2 separate regions of the Homo sapiens genome follow, and region 2 is linked to region 1. Evidence: promoter capture Hi-C in 16 types of primary human blood cells and fetal thymus (Javierre and others, 2016). All regions are on one chromosome and are shown on one strand. Each heading gives the region's core, a stretch centred on a gene start or on the middle of the fragment in contact. The rest is flanking DNA. Distances are from core to core; before and after follow the strand shown.

Evidence for each region. Contacts are between HindIII fragments. The CHiCAGO score rates a contact against its expected background, and 5 or more counts as called.
Region 2: a contact is called between a fragment that was not itself captured here and the fragment with the promoter of RPL22 in region 1, in 4 of 17 cell types (naive B cells, total B cells, naive CD8 T cells and 1 more). The highest score is 11.9, in naive B cells.

The regions. Positions count from the first base shown.
Region 1 is chr1:6,197,571-6,202,667 of GRCh38, reverse strand. It overlaps RPL22 (ribosomal protein L22), which reads left to right and starts at 3,073. Exons shown (of 4, transcript NM_000983.4): 1 at 3,073-3,106; 2 at 4,912-5,016. The coding sequence starts at 3,095. RefSeq lists a silencer at 3,182-3,321. The HindIII fragment of the contact is 15,793 bases long and covers 1-4,193 here.
Region 2 is chr1:5,507,445-5,512,518 of GRCh38, reverse strand. No RefSeq gene overlaps it. Among named protein-coding and RNA genes, the nearest start is that of MIR4689, 350 kb to the left of the region's middle. The HindIII fragment of the contact is 949 bases long and covers 2,207-3,155 here.

The DNA of each region.
Region 1 (5,097 bases), core at 1,824-4,323:
CGAGATGGCGCCACTGCACTCCGGCTTGGGTGACAGAGTGAGATTCCGCCTAAAAAATTAAATAAATAAATAAGGATGATGAGATGGAGGGCAGTTGGGAGGGGCTCGAGCTGAGGACCACACTAGGTAACCATGAGCAGAGAGGGGGAACTGAGCTTGAGACCCCCAGAGGATAAGAAATTAAGAAAAGCCAGGAAGGCTGGGCGCAGTGGCCCACACCCGTAATCCCAGCACTTTGGGAGGCCAGCGTGGGTGAATCTCTTGAGCCCAGGAGTTCAAGACCAGCTTGGGCAACATAGCAAGACTCCCCCCTCTATAAAAAATACTAAAACTTAGCTGGGCATGGTGGCTCGTGCTTGTAGTCCCAGCTACTTGAGAGGCTGAGGTGGAAGGATTGCTTGAGCCAGGAGGTTGAGGCTGCAGTGAGCTGTGACTGCACCTCTGCAGTCCCACCTGGGTGATAGAGTAAGACCCTGTCTCGAAAGAAAAACAAAAATAGAAAAGCTGGGAAAAGTTCCAAGCAGAGGCAAGAGCAAGTGCAAAGCCCCAGAAATGGGAAGACATTTAGAGACTAGCAGATCAATGTGGCTGGAGATGAAGGAGCTCAGGGTGGGGAGTAGGGCTGAACATGGCATGGGAGTGAGGATGGAGGATGGGGGTGAGGCTGGAGAGGTGGGGGCGGGGCAGGGGGTGTGGGGTGAGGGATGAGGGTTTGAGTGTGGGGAGGTGGGGGTGAGGGTGAAGAGGTGAGAATGGGCTCATGAGGGTCAGGGTGATCTACGGGACACTAGTCTAGAGATGCCAAGGATGCCACTGGCTGTACCTGTGGGGAGTCCAGGGAGGGGTAGAGGCTGCACACATTGGCCTGGGGAGTCATATTTAAAGGGAAGAGCATGTGGGTCTTGTCTAAAGATCAAGTGTAGATAAGGACGGGAGGAGGCTGGGTGTGATGGCTCCCGCCTGTAATCCTAGCACTTTGGGAGGCTGAGGCAGGAAGATTGCTTTAGCCCAGGAGTTCTAGATCAGCCTGGGCAACATAGCCATAGTGAGACACCAACTCTCTACAACAGCAAAACAAAACAAAACAAAAAAACATGCAGCTGGGCATGGTGGTGCACACCTGTGGTCCTAGCTACTCAGGAGGCTGAGGTGGGAGGATTGCTGGAGCCTAGGATGTCAAGGCTTCAGTGAGCCGTATTCGCACCACTGCACTCCAGCCTGGGCAACAGAGCGAGAGCCTGTCTCAGAAAAAAAAAAAAAAAAAAGAAAGAAAAAGGAAAGAACAATAAAAGTCAACTGCTGAGAGGGAGGTTTAGGAAGAAGGGGCTGGCATTATGACTGAGGTGTGAAATAGTCTTTTGGGCCAGGTGCAGTGCCTTATGCCTGTAATCCCAGCAATTTGGGAGGCCAAGGTGGGAGGATCACTTGAGCCCAGGAGTTTGAGGCTGCAGTAAGCTATGATCACACCACTGCACTCCAGCCTTGGTGACAGAGCAAGACCCTGTCTCTATTAAAAACAACAAGAAAGGGAAATAGTCCCTTGGGGGAGAGATTTAGGATTGTCAGTAGCCCTGAGGGCTCGCTTAGGGTCCGTTATCAGCCAGGGTCCAGTCAAAAGACAACACATTATAGTTTTTAACTGAGAGAATTTAATATAAAGGATTGTTAACTAGGTATAAAGATGTGTTTAGGTAACTGTCGGGGTATAATACTAACAGTAGCAACTGCAGGAAGTAGCTACCACTGGTAGGTGGTATTATTAAAATGTAGATGCTTGAGGAGGGGCACAGGGAGGTGAAACTCAGACATCTGAGGAGAGGGTGCTGCTCTGCTAGGGCTGGTGTCTCTGAGGAGAAAACGAGGCTGGTTCTGCAAATGTTGGAATAAGTGCAGACTGGATTCCACTGCTGCTTCCAGAATGTTCCAACTGCCACCTCCAGGATAAAGAAGCAAGAGTGGATGACACCAGACAGGACAGGAGCAAGCAGGAAGCAAAGCCCCCTATTGATAGAGCCAAACCGGGATCAGCTGGAAAGCAGAAGTGTTTGCAGAGGCCCAGCCTGATCATTATAGAGCCAAGAACAGCAGCTGGCTTTGGAGCTTGGTCAACCGGCTTGAGGCCTGAGTTGAAAGCTAGACCCATCAGCACAGTCTCTTCTGGTGATTGGACTTTTGCTAGGTGAGTACACTGAAGCCAGGTAAAGGGAGTGGAGAGTGTGTGTGCCACTGAGTGATTTACAATTCAGGATCCTGGAATATAATTCCGTGAGGACGCAGCGGGTGACTGGGTGCAAAGTAGCCCAGTTCAAGGGACCTGTGGGCCTGGGGATGAGGACCTTTGCTTCTCCACATGCGGTCCATGGACTCGCAGCATCAGCATCGTCTGAGAGCTTGTGAGAAATGCAGAATTTCAGGCCACTGAGACCGCTGGAATTGGAATCTGCATTTTCCAGATCTCCTGGTGGTCCTCAACTACTTACTGGTTTGGGATGGGAAACTAGAAGGCTTGGGCTGGGAAACTAGGGAGTGGTGATCAGCGAGGGGGCGGCCTGGCTACAGCAAAAAGGACAGGCACTGGGAGACAGCCCCTGGGCATGAGCTTCCAAGCTGGGGCTTTTTGAGGAAGCCATAGTGGTCTGGCATTGGGACCTCTGAACGAAATTTCCCGGTGGCTACAAGGAATTTTCCCACTTCCCCAAATTAGTAGATTCGATTTCCATCCCACTAGCTGGTAATTTACAGTATAGTGAATTTCCTTATTTCTTTTTTCTTCCCAAGACTTTCAAAAAGTAAAGCCAACCCCTTTATTTATCTTTGGGCTCGTCCAGTCTGGCTTCCCCCCTCCGATCGTTCGCAGTGGGACAGCCCGCCGGGCCTCCTTCCTTCCCCAGAAACCCTCCAGGCCTGGGAGAGGACGCGTTTTGCATTCAGGAAAAACCAATCGCTCCCCTATCGTACATAACCAAGAGAAAAGGTGGCGGACGAGGGGCGTGGCAAAGTGATTAGTGCGGCCTGGACCCTGCGTGCCTTGCGCGCTGCGGGCTCTTTGCGTCTGCGTAGTTCGCTCACCTCCCTTTCTAACTCCGCTGCCGCCATGGCTCCTGTGGTTAGTATGGCTCCGCGTGAGGCCTCGGCTCCAGGGGAGGCACGTGGGCCTCGCCGAGCCCGGCATCTACCCAGGCTCGCTGGGGACGGCGCCCTGCAGCGTCCTGCTGGGGTGGGCTGGCAGGTCGGCCGGAGCGGGCCAGAGCCCCTGCCGATCCCAGCACGTTGTAGGCGGAGGAGGCCGCGGCCCGAGGCTCGTGAGGGAGATCCGGGAGGTCTCGGAGGCCCGGGGCCCCAGCTAGGGGCTAGCGGGGAGCTGGAGCCTGGAGACTGCGGTCTGGGCCGGCCACTGGTCCTCGGACCCCGGCCGGGGGCCTGATTACCTGGGTGGAGGGCGGGGAAGAAGAACGGGACCTGCTACCCTGGGGAGCCGCGCATTCGGAAGTCCACGGCCAAGACTCGGGGACGAATCCGCGGAAGGGCGGCTTGGTCGGCGTGCTTTCGGAGAGGAGGCCTGGGTTTGAGGAGCTTTTTAGCGTCCCCAGAGGAAATTAGTTTATCAGGGCGCACTGTACAGACCCAAACGGGTGTTGCAGTGGTGTAGGGAGAAGGCTCTCATTGCATTCTCCTTTAGCTATGCTGGGACTGGGCTGTGCGGCGCCCTCCTCCTAGGTTATTTGAGAAAGTTGTTTTTCCGTGTTCTTCGTCCCAAGATCCTACTTTTCCTCTTTTGTTGGGACTCCCTGGTTAACATTTCCGGTTCTTCTGCTCTTTCTGTCTGGTTGGGCTTTTGAATGCCTTTTGGTTTAAAACCTTGATGGAGAAGTATCAAGCCCGTTGTGGGTAGGTCTCTTGATTGATTGTGTGTGTTCGGAATAGATCTTAAAGTACCCCTCTTAGATTATTACTGCGAAGAGACGTTGTAAAAAATAAATCAGTGATTTTTGTAGTGGCCAAATGTTTGAAAAGTTGATCCAGTTAACACAAGTTTTAGATGAAGTTCTTTTAAACATGAAGGGAGGTAAGATGTGTTTTTGGAAAAGTCTATTTAGTTCTGCAGAGCTTTTAAACGTGAAAGTACAGGTTGGTACGATGCACAAGTGCATTAATGGTGTCAAGTTTGTAGAGAGATAAGATTAACACAAGCTTCTTCGTAAGAGTGAAGAAACTGGAACCTTGTAGGATGTGCTTTGCCGGGTGGTTTGGAAGTACTAATGCATAGATGAAGCGAATCAAAATGTCAGAAGTTCTTGACGGTAGTGTTGTAATAAGATTCTAGGTTTTAGCCTTAACCTTGTCCAAGCTGGAGTGGACAGGCACCTAGAATACTTTGCAACTCCCTTCATGAGAAGGTGGATGAGACAGGATTAAGGGAGATGAGCTAAGACGGATCAGGACCCTACTCTGAACATGTAGGACAAGGATTGATTTCATATGAAAATTGTGGGTATGCAAGGCATTTTGTATGCCTGCACTCTAATTTTGGAAAAATAGTATTTTTTTGAAATTGGGAATGTTAGGGCAAACAAAAGGAAGTGTTCATTTTATTGTGGTTCATAAACTAAGAGACCTTCATGCCTGTAGAGATTGGGGAGACTGGAAAGTTTGAGTGAGTCAAGAGTGCTAGAATGATTTCCCCATCAAAAGGGCATGACCCCAGGCCCCAAGCTTGTACAGCAGCATCTGCCCCATTATACCTCTGGCACTCAGGCAGTGATGCCTCTTGGCCCTCTGGCAAAGGGAGCACACTTCCGTTAGTTTTGTATTTGTATGGACTTTTATACCTATGACGTTTCTGGTTCTGTTAATCTTGTTTTTCCGACTGACTGAAACTTCATCTCTGTTATCATTTGTGTATTTTCTTAGAAAAAGCTTGTGGTGAAGGGGGGCAAAAAAAAGAAGCAAGTTCTGAAGTTCACTCTTGATTGCACCCACCCTGTAGAAGATGGAATCATGGATGCTGCCAATTTTGTAAGTTACATCCTTATTGCCACTCGGGTGGTCACGAACATTTTGAGATACTGTTGAGAAAACCTACTGGGGTACATTTCT
Region 2 (5,074 bases), core at 1,432-3,931, 690 kb after region 1:
GCATAGTTGGGCACTAGGATGGTGGAAGAGAGAATGGAGGGCCCTCTGGAGATGACAAGTGCTCTGAACAAAGGCAGAAGTCTTGAGTCCAGCATGTGGCCCAGCTGGCACCTGCAGAGAGGAGGCAGGATGAGTGACCACAGGAGGATGGACTCACTATGGGGCTCAGCTGAATGGTGGAAGCTTCTGGGCCTGCTTTGCTGTGCAGGGCAGTTTTCATGGCCCCCACCTGATTTCAGACAGTTCTGCCTGGCATCAGAACTGGAAGGGACTTCAGAAGTTATTAAGTTCCAGTGTTTTCAAAAGAAACCTCCTTCAGGAGATATACGACATTTTTTTTTAAGAAGAGCAGCTTGGCTTGAAGCTGGGGGTTACAGAGAAGGTGTGGGGAGCCTCCTGCCTGAATGGCAGGAGTGGGGGAGTGGGGACAGACCACCATCCATGAGGCTTCTCAGCTGAAGCCCCGCACTCTTTAGGATGCAGTTTGAAAACTAAGGGAAATCGCGGCCTGGAGAGAAGAATTTTCTCAAGTTCATTCATCTACCTAAAAACAATCCAGACTCCTAGTTCAGCAGGGTGCTGATGACTCAATTATAACTTTTTATAGCTGGGGTGGGGTTGGAAAACCAATTTGTCTTCGTAAGATCACTTCCAGGCATTTAGAAATTCTGTATATAATGATGCTTCCCCCGCCCCACTACCAATTTTAATTACAATCTCCTTCTGCCTCTATTCCAAGAGTTAAAGATGTGGAACTCAGGAAATTCCTCACAAAATATTTTTGATGCTCTTTTTCTAAGAGCCTGGCTTGAAGAGATGATCTTCCTTTCTCTCTCTCCCTCCCTCCATTTCTCTCTTTCCCTCTCTCTCTCTCTCACACACACATGCGCACACACACAGCCTCTGCCTCATGTGCTTTTGCCACTCCTGAAGGAGGGTGATGTGTGGGCACACAAGGGCAACACCCAGCCTTGCACTGCGACACCAGTCTGCAGATCCACTCTTGGGAATGTGTTTTTGTTTCAAGCTGGGTTGATTCTCTCTGTTCATTTCCCTTCTGTGGCCCATCAGCTCCGTGTTTCCTGTCTCTCAGCTCTCCCTGTTTGCCTAAGACGCACAATTATGTCCTGGATTCCACACAGGGCACATTTATGGGGACTCATAGGCTGCCTGAGTCACGGAGGAGCCAGTCCCGTATGAAAATCAGGGCCCTCGACATCGGGCAGATATGCCAGGCTTTAGGGTGCTCAGCTTGCAGGCTCCTGGACCCCTCCGTCCCACCACTCTCTCCACCTTTTCCCATCCCCTCTGGGCCGGGGACACCTCCCAGGTGCTCTGGAGTCCTGGGCAGCACACTGGCCAAGGAGCTGTTCTGTGCACATTTCCTCGGGAGCCAGGATGACTGACCCTTGCTGTGGGCTTGCTCTATGTTCCGGAGGAAGCGAGATCAAATGTCCATGTTAGCTGTGGTCCCTTGGCAGAGGCTCTAATCAGCCCTGCATGGCTACTGCCAAGCAGGGAAAGGAAATGCGTCCCCAGCAGGGAGAGCCCTTTAAGCCATGGTCAGTCGTAAGCACAAGGCTGGAGTCAGGTCTTGCCTCTCCATAAGGAAATCTGTGCAGTGAGGGAGCTCCTCACCCCAGTTCCACTTGTGAGGAGGAAGGAGGGGATGAGAAAGGTGAGAACAGGAGTCCCAGGATGCCAGAGGGAAGAAGTATGGTCCCAAGGTTAAGAAGGAGCTATGGGTCAGGCCGCCCTGCCCAAATCCCCACCCTGCCATTGCTGGCTTCTCCTTCCTCAGTCTGCTCATCTGCAGAGTGGAGGTGATACCGGCACCCACCTCCCGGGCTCTTTCTGAGGGTTCCATGGAGAAGAGAGCCTGCCACGTGGTGAGCACTGAGTAAAAGGTAGCTATGATGACGATTGCCTTTTTCCCGATGTTTATCAAACCTGGGTACATGCATGGATCTCTCTGGAGGAAACCATTCCTCTTGAACCCTAGAGAATATCTCTGAAGCCCTCAGAGTTCAGTTTATGGAGTAATGATTAAGCAAAGGCCTTTATTGAGGAAGATCGTTTTCCCTGGTAAATGACCTCTGCGAAAGTTTTTGCCTCTAGAGCTGGCAGGATGTATTTTAGACTCGTTGAATAAAAACACAAAATTTCGTTCTCAGAAACTTGCAGGTCCTGAGGAATTTGCAAAGCTTCCTTAAACCTGGTTGGGGAGAGAAACGGGTTGGGGGAAAATGCTGGGCTGTAGGGCAGAGATTGGACAGGCATACTTGGGGGTCTGGCTTCTGGGTCTGCTGGGATTCACTGGACGTCCCCTGATGTGGTTCACAGGGCAGAGTACCCTCCTTCCAGCTCTCTGGGGCTGCTTCCTTGCAACCACCTGCTCCCTTCCATCCTCCCGAAGTTGTAACAAAGTAACCCCTGGGGAGACGGTGTTGCTGCCACCTGGTGGCCAGTTCTGCACACTGCAGGCTCCCCTGTCCTCGGGGACCCCAGGAGGCTGTACCTGTGACCCCGCAGAACCGCACGGGCTGGGTCGTTTTAGGGGCACTCATCACAGTGAATTGGGGATGGGTCCCTTCCCATGCGTGTCTGTGCTACCAGTGAGCTGGTGCAGGAGAGTCCCGTGCCCAGGGAGCCCCAGGCCGGCAGGCAGGTGGACCCTCCTCCCTCCTCCCTCCTCCCTCCTCCATCCAGGGTGCCCACCTCCAGGAGCTTCTGCCGTCCCCAAGTTGTCTCTCCCTGTCCTCAATCCCCCTGGTCGCTCCGCTCCAGGTACCCTCTTCGGGGCAGCCCAGATGCGCTGGAGTCTCCAAGACACCCCTCCTGGCCTCATCCTCCTGCCTGTCGGACACCACACACTCATCCTTGGTCTCTGTTTCCCTTTGATAAAACCCTTTCCTTTCCTTCCATCTTTCTCCAGAAGCAAAAGAGGGCAGGGTTCTGAATTGTGACTGCCTGTTCGGTGCCTGATGACATTGTCAACACCGAGGTCAACCCATGGAGAAAGATTCTGCTAAGGCCTGGGATGCTTAGCACTTGGTGGACTTGACCTTGTTTATTTCCTTACAAGGTGCCTGGGAAAGAGCATCTTTAGGGGCTTCACAGATGAAGAGCAGGGCCTCTAAGGGTCAAGTGAAGCTTAGTGGGCCCTGGAGCCAGGATCTTCCCAGCACTGTCTGCACGGCACTCAGGTGGGTCACAGCTGAAAGCGCACCGGGATGCTGGAGGCTGAATCCCTCGCAGGGCCGGTAAAATCCCAGACTGCTGCACCCACAGCCAGAGTTTCTGACTCAGCAGGTGTGGGGCGGAGGCTGCAGAGTTGGCCTGTCAACCTGGCTGCTGTTGCTGTCCCAGGATCCCACGCTGAGAACCGCTGATACAGGTTGCTGGATCTCACCTCTGGCTGGGGTTGGAGTCACCTGGGGAGACATGAACATGCAGAGGTCTGGGTCCCCACCTGGGGAGGCAATGCCGCCGTCAGTGGCGTGGTCAGGCACCAGGAATTTTAAAAGCTTGTCAGGAAATTCCAATGTGCAGCCAAGGTTGGGAATCACTAAGTAGCTCACCCCTTTCATCTGGGGGAAACTGAAGCCCCAGGAGAGAAACAGATACCCTTGGGTCACAGGCAGAGTCAGCCCTCTTGGGGCAGGGTCTTGGGTTGGTGCTGAGGCACCTTGGGCGTGGTTTGGGCAGGGGTGCACCTGTGTGCATGGCCATGCCAGGACCCTAAACGGACAGAGAGCAGGGCTCAGGGGTGGGGAGGTGGGGGCATCCAAGGAGTGTCCTGCTGTGTCCTCCAACTGCACCTTGCCCAGCCCCCGTCTCAGAATACACAAAAGGCAAAGGTCAAGGCCACGTTCCCCAGGTAGGATTCAGGCAGGACATCAAAGCCTGAGGCAAGTGAGCCTAAGATCCACTGTGTGGTCCCAGGTTGACCCTGACTTTGTCCACCACCTTGGCCAGGTTCTGTCCAGCGGCCTCAGGGTCCCCTTTGTTCCTGGGTTAGGCCATTCTTGCATTGTTATAAAGAAATGCCTGGGGCTGGGGAATTTACCAAGAAGGGAAGTTTAAATTGGCTCGCAGTTCTGCAGGCTTCACAGGAAGCATGATGCCGGCATCCGTTTGGCTTCTGGGGAGGCATTGGGAAGCTTTTACTCATGGCAGAAGGTGAAGGGGGAGCAGGAGTCTCACATAGTGAGAACAAGAGCCAGTTGAGGAGGTGCCAGACACTTATTTTTTTTTGATACAGAGTGCTGCTCTGTCACCTGGGCTGGAGTGTAGTGGCATGACCGTGGCTCACTGCAGCCTCCACCTCCTGGGCTCAAGTGAGTGATCCTTCCACCTCAGCCTCCCCAGTAGCTGGGACTACAGGCATGCACCACCATGCTTGGCTAATTTTTGTATTTTTGTATTTTTTTTTGGTGGAGACAGGGTTTTGCCATGTTGCCCAGGCTGTTCTCAAATTCCTGCGCTCAAGTAATCCACCTGTCTTGGCCTCCCAAGTGCTGGGATTACAGGAGTGAGCCACCGCACCTGGCTACCGCACACTGACAAACAACCAGATCTCGGGAGATCTCACTACCATGAGGACGGCACCAAACCATTCAGGAGGGATCCACCTCCATGACCAAACACCTCCCACCAGGCCCCACCTCCAACATTGGGGATTACATTTTAACATGGATTCTGGCAGGGACAGATACTTGACAACACCAGTTACCATGATGGCATGGAACCCCGGGAAGCCCACGGTGGAGAGAGTGGATGGGCTGCCCAATGTCAGGCTCGGAACACTCTCCCACCAGAGCTGGTGAGAGACCGGGGCCACCCAGACCCCACATGGAGCCTGCAGTGGGGTGTGGGCAGCAAGTTCTGCCTGACAGACGCCATGCCTGCCCCGCACTCTGGGCTGGTGCGGCACGGGCTTAGGTGGAGCGCGTGAGCCTTCTTCGTGGAAAGTTGCTGAGCTGGCCAAGCGAGGCTGGGTATTATCTAGTGAGTGATACTCCCATTAGCGAAAAAGAGGAAGAGCTTCCAAAAAGAATGAGATAAATGGCTC